Regions from separate parts of the Homo sapiens genome. Here all the other regions are linked to region 3. Evidence: promoter capture Hi-C in human tissues and cell types (Jung and others, 2019). All regions are on one chromosome and are shown on one strand. Each heading gives the region's core, a stretch centred on a gene start or on the middle of the fragment in contact. The rest is flanking DNA. Distances are from core to core; before and after follow the strand shown. Region 1 overlaps NLGN1 (neuroligin 1). Region 2 overlaps NLGN1 (neuroligin 1). Region 3 holds the start of NLGN1 (neuroligin 1).

Region 1 (2,700 bases), core at 160-2,659, 740 kb before region 3:
TATTAGATGGAAACACATAGAAACATATTTCAGGAAATATCCAAGAAAATACAGACAGTCCTCAATTTAGGATGGTTCCACTTATGATTTTTCAACTTTGCAATGGTGGTTTCAACTGCGAATGTTAATGGTGAGTGTCCTTATAACCATTCTGTTTTTCACTTTCAGCACGGTAGTCAATAAATTACATGAGATATTCAACACCTTATCATATATATAGGCTTTTTGTTAGATGATTTTGCCTCTGTAGACTAATGTAAGTGTTTTGAACATGCTTAAGATAGGCTAGGCTAAGCTATGTTTGGTAGGTTAGATGTATTAAATGCACTTTCCATTTACGGTATTTTCAACTTATGATGGCATTATTGAAATGCAACCCCATCATTAGTCAAGGAGCATCTGTAACATTTATGGCTGTGTTTCCCAAACTATGTAAATGGAACAAATATTCTGTAAGATAAAAATTAATTACTTTGGGAAACCTGGCATATTAACACCTTTGAATAGTCAAGGTACTGATAAGTGCTGCAATAAAGCTACCTGTTTTTAACATTGTTATGTCTGCAGGCCTACCTGGGCAGACATATTTTCAAATGAAAGAGAGCTAGCTTATTCTTGGTAAATAGAGTTGCTTACCCTGAACCTAATGAACAGAGTCAAGAAAACAATATCTCTTCCTTACCTCTAGTAGAATCTCCTCTTCAGCTTCCTCTTGGTAATCAGGTGGTCTGTGCTAGGCATGCTTTTCTTAAAAAATTATAAATTGGTAATTTTCACTGTCAAAACAATGTTGCTCTGCCCACCCAGTAAGTGTCAATTTTCTCCTATATCTTATATGGCTTTGTGACCTCACAAAACAATGACCTAAGTCCCAATTTAATAATACTGAAGCGTATCAGTTTAGGGATAGGGTCATGGAAACAGGCTGAAGTATTTATTCAAATGTAGTTATTTCCTACAGTATCTGAAAGTGGGGGTAACAAACACCCAATAGTATGTATTGCTATGTGCCTTTTATTTTCCTGTTCTTAATATTAATGTGAACATTCCACCAATATATCAGATATGTATTTTTGGAACTTACAAACATCTTTTGTAACCTATATCTATTGTATCCTGCTGCAGATGTTCAGAAATTGAGGACTGTTCCAATCTTGCAATTTCAAAATTATTTCCAGAGGAAGCAAAGATCAAAGCCCTCCACAAGCATGCATGGCTTTAAACATATTAGAAGATAAATTAAGCCATGTTCAGGCAGAAAGAAGAAGCGAGAGGTAGAATTTTAAAATTTAATAACAGCGGCCTGCAAATAGTAGTCACTTTTTACTTATTGAATCTCAATTTTCAATGCTACAGTAATAATAGTTCCCATTTTATTATTTCACCAGATTTGATCTGGGTCTGAATCTTAAAAATGGCTTTTCCTAAAAGTACTAGCTTAAAATAATAAGGAATTACTTAGTCAAGATAGTTCTTGATCGGTAAATTTTGTCTCACGTACATAGCAGTATATAAAATTCAATTTTTATTTTAGTTAAACTAAGTATCAAATGACCACAGTGACGATTCCAGCACTGGATCCTGTATTCCCTGGTATTCTATTAGGTCATATTTCAACTACTGTAAATATGTAAATTCTGTTACACAGAAGATCTGGAAATAACCAAATATTCTTTTAAAAGTCAAAACTGTTAGCACTTCAAACCCATTTACTAAAAACTAGAGTGAATAAAAAAGCTTGTTATTTCAAAGATTTATCTGTGTTATTAATAGGAATCATTAACATCTCTCGAGGGTTAGAAAAATATTTGCTTTAAGCCACATATTCTCTAGACAACTACTGCTCCCTTTCGAGCATATTTAACTGTTTACCTTGAAACATGTTACACCTTTATGTCCTCTGCCTATCATTAGGATGTAACCAAAAACAATTCTATCGTATGTTCTAGCTAACTACTTACAATTTCATTTGTCAAAAAATAAAAACAAATGTTTTTTACCTTATCAGTTTGCTCAGTATTTTCAGACATTTACCTAATAAACTATTTAAAATAAAGATTCTGAGAAATACAACCTCCATGAAATTGCCTCAATAATGGTTAATTTAGGATACCAAATGTCTGATTAAGATGCATTAGAAATCTTAAGAAACAATAGTGTTACACGTGGGATGATCAGAATGATAGGTATTATAATAAAGACATTAGGAAAATGGTTTTAATAATCTCAGAACTTTGGCAGAACACTAAATTGCGGGGTTTTTTTCTATGTCAGAAGTACCTACAATTGTTTCTGAAAAGGAAGCATAAATATCAGACAGGGTGCCAGCTCCTCCAGGAATACAGTAGAAAGGCACAGCCTTAATCTTTCTTGCATATGCTTCCAAAAATTTGCTGGATATCTGGGAATATGGAATTAGACCTTCGCCTCTGCTTTTACCTGGGCACCCACTTGTGTCTCCACTGGTCAGGTCGCATTTAACTGTGTATGAGAAATTGATCCAGTCCTTACTTTCCTGGTGGCATACGAGAGTTTCCTCAGAATTGCCAGGGTCCACACTATCCAGCTTCAAGTCATTTATCTTGAAGTTGCAGGCTTTTGGGGGGCTATGTAGAAATACCAAGAAGAATCAAGTTTCTCTCACTACTTCACATGCTTCAGCCTCTTCATGTAATGTCATTTTGGGCACCCACCATGAGA
Region 2 (2,700 bases), core at 156-2,655, 520 kb before region 3:
GCTGAAGATGAAAATAGCCGAACTAGCAGGTTGGTAGGTGTTATGGTAGCATCTGTCCCTTCAACCAAGAACAATCTGCACCTGTGACATTTGAGTAAACTTTGTGCCAGACTGTGTCTTCTATTTTTCTTATATGATGTGATACAAGATATGGCCCAAATCTGAAGAAAACAAATTATATTATCATAGTTTTCATTATTTTATGAGCACAGTCAATGGCAATATAACGTTTACATTTGTGCTTTCTTTCTAACACACCTGCTTTAGGAGTCAATGAATCATTCAATCCAAAGGGCCACTTATTTGGTACTTCATATGCAGTAATCTAGTCTAGTAGTAGGCTAGAACACTTGATAACCATAAGAGATAATCCAAGCCTTTTTTATTTCTATCTCAAATAAGTGGCCTCAGAGTATCTGTATCTAGTCTGCCCTTTCAGCCTGAAGATCAACATTAGAATTTTCAGTTTCTCAAGATACTAGGTTTGCTCCTTTTTTCTCAATGTCTCTCTCAACCCTGCTCTGGGCAGTTTGCAATCTAAAGTCCTATGACTAAAATATTTTTTTAAAAAATAGCATCCCAGCATTCTCCTTTGATTAAATTAAGTACAAAGCTCTTCAGTATCCATGTTAATATTTTAAATATTGATTGCATATATGTTAAGATTTATAAAACTTTTAGAAAAATGTCTATTATTTATTAAGAAAGAAAAATGAGTCTTCTCTATAGCAAAACTGTGCATATTTAATAGCTATATATCTACTAGAACATTTTTTGTTTGCATGTTTTTCATTTTTAGTTCAACAGAAGATAAAAACATGAGTAAAATGTACAATTAGCCATTTAATATAATATAGAAATCCTTAAATATTTTATCCATATTTTAGGAATTCTTTTAAACTGTTCTAGCTAAGATACAATGAGTTATAGACAGAGCATGACCTAGTTAAGAGTGTGGATTTTGGAATTGGCCAGGCTTATTTCAAATTCTTAACTCTACCATTAGCTGGATGATTTTGGACAAATTTTTCTAGGAGTCCTGTTTCCTCTTCTGTGAAATGTGGCTAATGGAACCTTCCTAATAAAGTGAGTGTGGCTTAGACAATTTAATGAAATTGTGTAAATTATCTCACATGGATTCTGTCATATGGTAAAAACCCAAGAAAATTTTTTTCTGCTCTGTCCTCTTTGAAATATGCTTGTAAAGTAAAATATGAACAACAGTAAACTTGAATCTTTTCCTTAATATGTCCTTTATGTCCTCAAGGGGATAAACAGCTTTTTCCTTCATATTCTCTGTAGCAGATACAAAATGGCCTCCCAAAGATGTCTGAGTCTTAATCTCCAGAATCTTGAATATGTTACGTTACAAATACATTTGTCAGATTTTGCAGATATGATTAAGTTAAGGATCTTGAGATATAGAGATTATCCTGGATTATCCAAGTGGACTCAATATAATCACAGGAGTCCTTGTAAGAAAAGGAGAGAGGTAGGAGAGTGAGAATCAGGATAAAAGATGTGGTGACTGAAGCAAAATCAGAGACAGAAATTGAAATCTGAACATGCTGGACTGCTAGTTTATTCAAAACCAGCAGAGGAACTAGCCAAGGAATGCAGGTAGCCCCTAGAAGATAGAAAAGGCAAGAAAATAGATTCTCTACTAGAGCCACCAAATGTAATGCAATCCTGTAGACACACTGATTTTAGGACTATAAAATAATAAATTTATGTTGTTTTATAACACTAAATATGTGGTAATTTGTTACAACAGCAATGGGAAACTGATACACTCAATAAAGGCAATAAATGGACTAGAAGACGTTACCATTCTATGCAATATATATATATACACACACACACACACACACACACACACACACACACACACACATATGTATTTCTTTTTTTTTTTTTTTTTTTTGAGATGGAGTCTCACTGTCACCCAGGCTGGAGTGCAATGGTGTGGTTTCAGCTCACTGCAACCTCCACCTCCCAGGTTCAAGTGATTCTCCTGCCTCAGCCTCCCGAGTAGCTGGGACTACAGGCACACGCTGCCGCATGGCGCTAATCTTTGTATTTTTAGTAGATAGAGTTTCACTATGTTGGTCAGGTTGGTCTCAAACTCCTGACCTCGTGATCTGCCTGCCTCGGCCCCCCAAAGTGCTGGGATTACAGGTGTGAGCCACCGCGCCCGGCCCATTCTATGCATTTTAAAATTCCGGTGTTTGATACCTTTTGTAGATGTGTAGCAAGCTACAGAGAACTGTAATGATACTTAATAATAGTGAGGTCATTTCATGTTGCAACACTTAATGAAGCATTAAGTAAGCACAGTTAAGATTTCACATAAATACGTTTAAAGAACTACAAAGTTCAAGCTTTGGAAGATATTAATAAGTAACGAATGCATTACTTCTATTAATAAATAATAAGAACAAGTACTATAATTGACTGAATACTTAATATGTGCCAATATGATAACCATCTTACATACATTATCTTATTTAATTCATAAAACAGCCTTAGAGGTACGTGTTCTTACTGCAGTTTTACAGAAAAGGGACTGAATTTAAAAGTTTAACTTACAAATGGACAAACTGAAAGGAAGTGAAATGGTTTGAACCATAGCCTGTTGATTTAAAATCAAGCCATTCATCAACAATAAATCCAGATAAAGGCCAACACACACACACACAC
Region 3 (2,700 bases), core at 140-2,639:
GATTCATTCTCTGCCAAAGGCACAGTAAATTTAATGTTTTTGCATTTAACATTTAATATTTTAAATATATGAATGGCCCTTGCTTCTGAGCTCATTTCAAAAACCTTGTGTTCTGCTAGGTTACAATGGCTGATAGAAATGCTGAGACATTTTATAGGTTTTACACTCAAACATAGGTACACATACCCTTTCTCAGTGACATTTTAATATCTATGATCCTATTAATAATTGAGCACAATTAATGGTGAGAAATGCATTAAGACCCTGTAATTTTCATGTACAGCATGACAACTCAATTGACTTAAGCAAAAATAGTCTACCGGAGTTTGAGTATAAAAAGAGGGAAAATGAGTATATTAACTACCTGTAAAAATGCAGAGTAACAGATACTGGGTTAACTATACGAATTCACGTTTCCCAAGTGTTATATGTATCACTATGGCCCTGGAAATGCAAAAAGAAATAGTACCTTTGTGGAGGCCAACTGTTCATGATTTAGAATTATCACAAATGAATCAAATATTGGACATGTAATATCCCTCATCTCTATAACACACTAACAACCTCCTCTGGAAGAAATTATTCCCAATGCAAAATCTCAACCTAAATAATTTTAAATTCAGGTGGTTTTTCATTTCTACTCACAAGGCATTGTGTTGAGGCGGGCAGGAGTCGGTGGAGAACGGTTTAAATGTTTGGAATACCTTCTCTTCCCAGGAGAGTTTATTGCCCAATAATGCATAATATATTAGTTGCTCAACGCGGGGGATCTAGGGAGTGACATCTTGACTGGAAACACACAGATCTGAAAACCACCTCTCAGGAAACGTTGTGGGGAAGAAGAGCAACTTTCTTATCCCTGTCAAACTAACCGGCGGAACCAACCCCAGAACTAGCCGGAGGGCCTGGGGAGAGCAGAAGGCTGAAAGCAGCTCCTCTGCGCTCCGCCGAGGGTTCAGGCAAGGGTTTTCTTCTGGAGGCGGCATTGTTCCTCCATCTGCTCAGCCTCCGTATTTCGCCAGGAAACCCTCCCCGCTTTCTCGTAATCTGTTCCTTATTTCTTTTGTACCTCTCAGCCGATTTCCATGCTCTTGGTCTCTGTGGTCCCAGGGCACAGCTCTAGGGTGAAGAGCTGCAGTGACTGGGGCGCCGCTCTAAGGCTTTGGAGGCGACTGCACTCCGCCCGGGCTCTGGCAGCGTGAGCGCCGCACAGTCGCTCGCTCCCTTCTCTCCGGTCTCTCCGGCTCGGACGGGCTCTCCCGGCCTCTCATCACCCACTCCGACTCGCCTTTCCTGCCGTGTCTCCCCACGCCAGCTCCGCGCGCTCGGCGCTGGCCGCCCGGGCGCGCTCTCCGCGCCGCCGCCTGATCCTCGGCTTACAGCCGCGGCGCTCCCCCGCCCGCCCACAGGCCGGGACTCCGAATTGAAGGGTCAACCCTCCGCGGGGAGGCGGGGAGGAGCGGCGAGGAGAGCTGGGGCAAGTGGGGAGCCGCGGGTGGGGGGACTGACGGGGGAACGGGAGAGTGAGGCCAAGAAGAAAGAAGATGCATCTGCTCCGAAGACGCCAATGAAGAAAGGACAGAGGGGGCAGGAGTGGAGTGGGGGAGAGAACGCCCACCAGGAGGGTGGGCAAAACGGGCAATTTACAAACTGCCGGGGCTGGAGATGCCGCGCGGAGGAGGAAAGAGGTTAGCGGCACAGAAGAAGAAATGAGGGGAAGTTCCCACATCTCCCCAAAAGGTCACGTTTGAAAACCGTGTCCCTTGAACGGGAGTTAAACAAGCGACTGGCCATGGTGTAAAAGGTGGATTTAAAAGGAAATTTAGTGTCATGTACTTATTTAGACACGGCTTCGTCTCGCTCAACTCTGGCAAATTACCCTCCAAGTAAAATGTATTGGTTTTATGCAGAAACGGAAGGCGAATCTCCTCCACTGTGGACTCCTCCTGAGATTGGTTTGTTTGCTGGTTATCTTTCTTTTTAAATGAAAAAAAGCGTTTGGGAGCTTCCATGAACCCCAACGCTTAAAAAAAACCACCCAGTTTATTAAAGTTCATTATTTTTTATTGCTTTTATTTTCATCAGAGGATAGGGTGAGGGACTGGCATCTTCAGATGTTTAAAACACTTATTTAGGTAGCATTATTTTTTATAAAGGACACGATTTCCTAAAACCGCCAGAAAGGCTATTGGAAAACTCAGCTACTAGCCTGGGAAAGAGAGACGCATTTAAACTCAAATAGACGATTATACCTCCAGCACCCCCCACCCCCACCCCAATGGGATTGGAAAAGGGTTGAGTTTACAGAAGAGAGAGAGCAGAGAAGGGTGGGTGGAAGGTGGGGAAGGCGAAGGAGAGGCAGGGAATAGGAAGTTCTCGGCAATCCCCGGGATTAAGGTAAACGCCGGAGCTCGGCGGACGCAGGAAGCTCCCTTACCTTTCTCTCTAAGCCCCGTTTGCACCTGATCTGCAACCATAAATACTTCGTGGTGCTTAGTGTGCAGCCAAACGATGGCCAAATGTTAAACAATTCTTCACGCTCCCTCCCCCTTTTAAAAAACAGGCTCAAAAGAATGTTAATAGTGTTCTTGTTATCCATCGGCTCCAAAACATTCCGTTTCGTGGGGAGGAGAGACGAAAACCAGGCCCTTGGGCACGCGTATATGTATTTATATATTATGCGGTCGGTATATAAACATA

Evidence for each region. Contacts are between HindIII fragments. The study calls those that stand out against the background at their distance.
Region 1: a fragment that was not itself captured here is called in contact with the fragment with the promoter of NLGN1 in region 3 in 1 of the 25 tissues and cell types used here (IMR-90 fibroblasts).
Region 2: a contact is called between a fragment that was not itself captured here and the fragment with the promoter of NLGN1 in region 3, in 2 of the 25 tissues and cell types used here (H1 embryonic stem cells and hippocampus).

The regions. Positions count from the first base shown.
Region 1 is chr3:174,134,563-174,137,262 of GRCh38, reverse strand. The region is part of intron 4 of NLGN1 (neuroligin 1); the gene reads right to left. Among named protein-coding and RNA genes, the nearest start is that of NLGN1-AS1, 220 kb to the right of the region's middle. The HindIII fragment of the contact is 7,394 bases long and covers 1-2,700 here.
Region 2 is chr3:173,917,855-173,920,554 of GRCh38, reverse strand. The region is part of intron 4 of NLGN1 (neuroligin 1); the gene reads right to left. NLGN1-AS1 (NLGN1 antisense RNA 1) reads left to right here. Exons shown (of 4, transcript NR_046664.1): 1 at 1-29. Among named protein-coding and RNA genes, the nearest start is that of NLGN1-AS1, 1.6 kb to the left of the region's middle. The HindIII fragment of the contact is 4,640 bases long and covers 1-2,700 here.
Region 3 is chr3:173,396,433-173,399,132 of GRCh38, reverse strand. It overlaps NLGN1 (neuroligin 1), which reads right to left and starts at 1,389. Exons shown (of 7, transcript NM_001365925.2): 1 at 1,070-1,389. RefSeq lists an enhancer at 2,621-2,700. The HindIII fragment of the contact is 5,603 bases long and covers 1-2,700 here.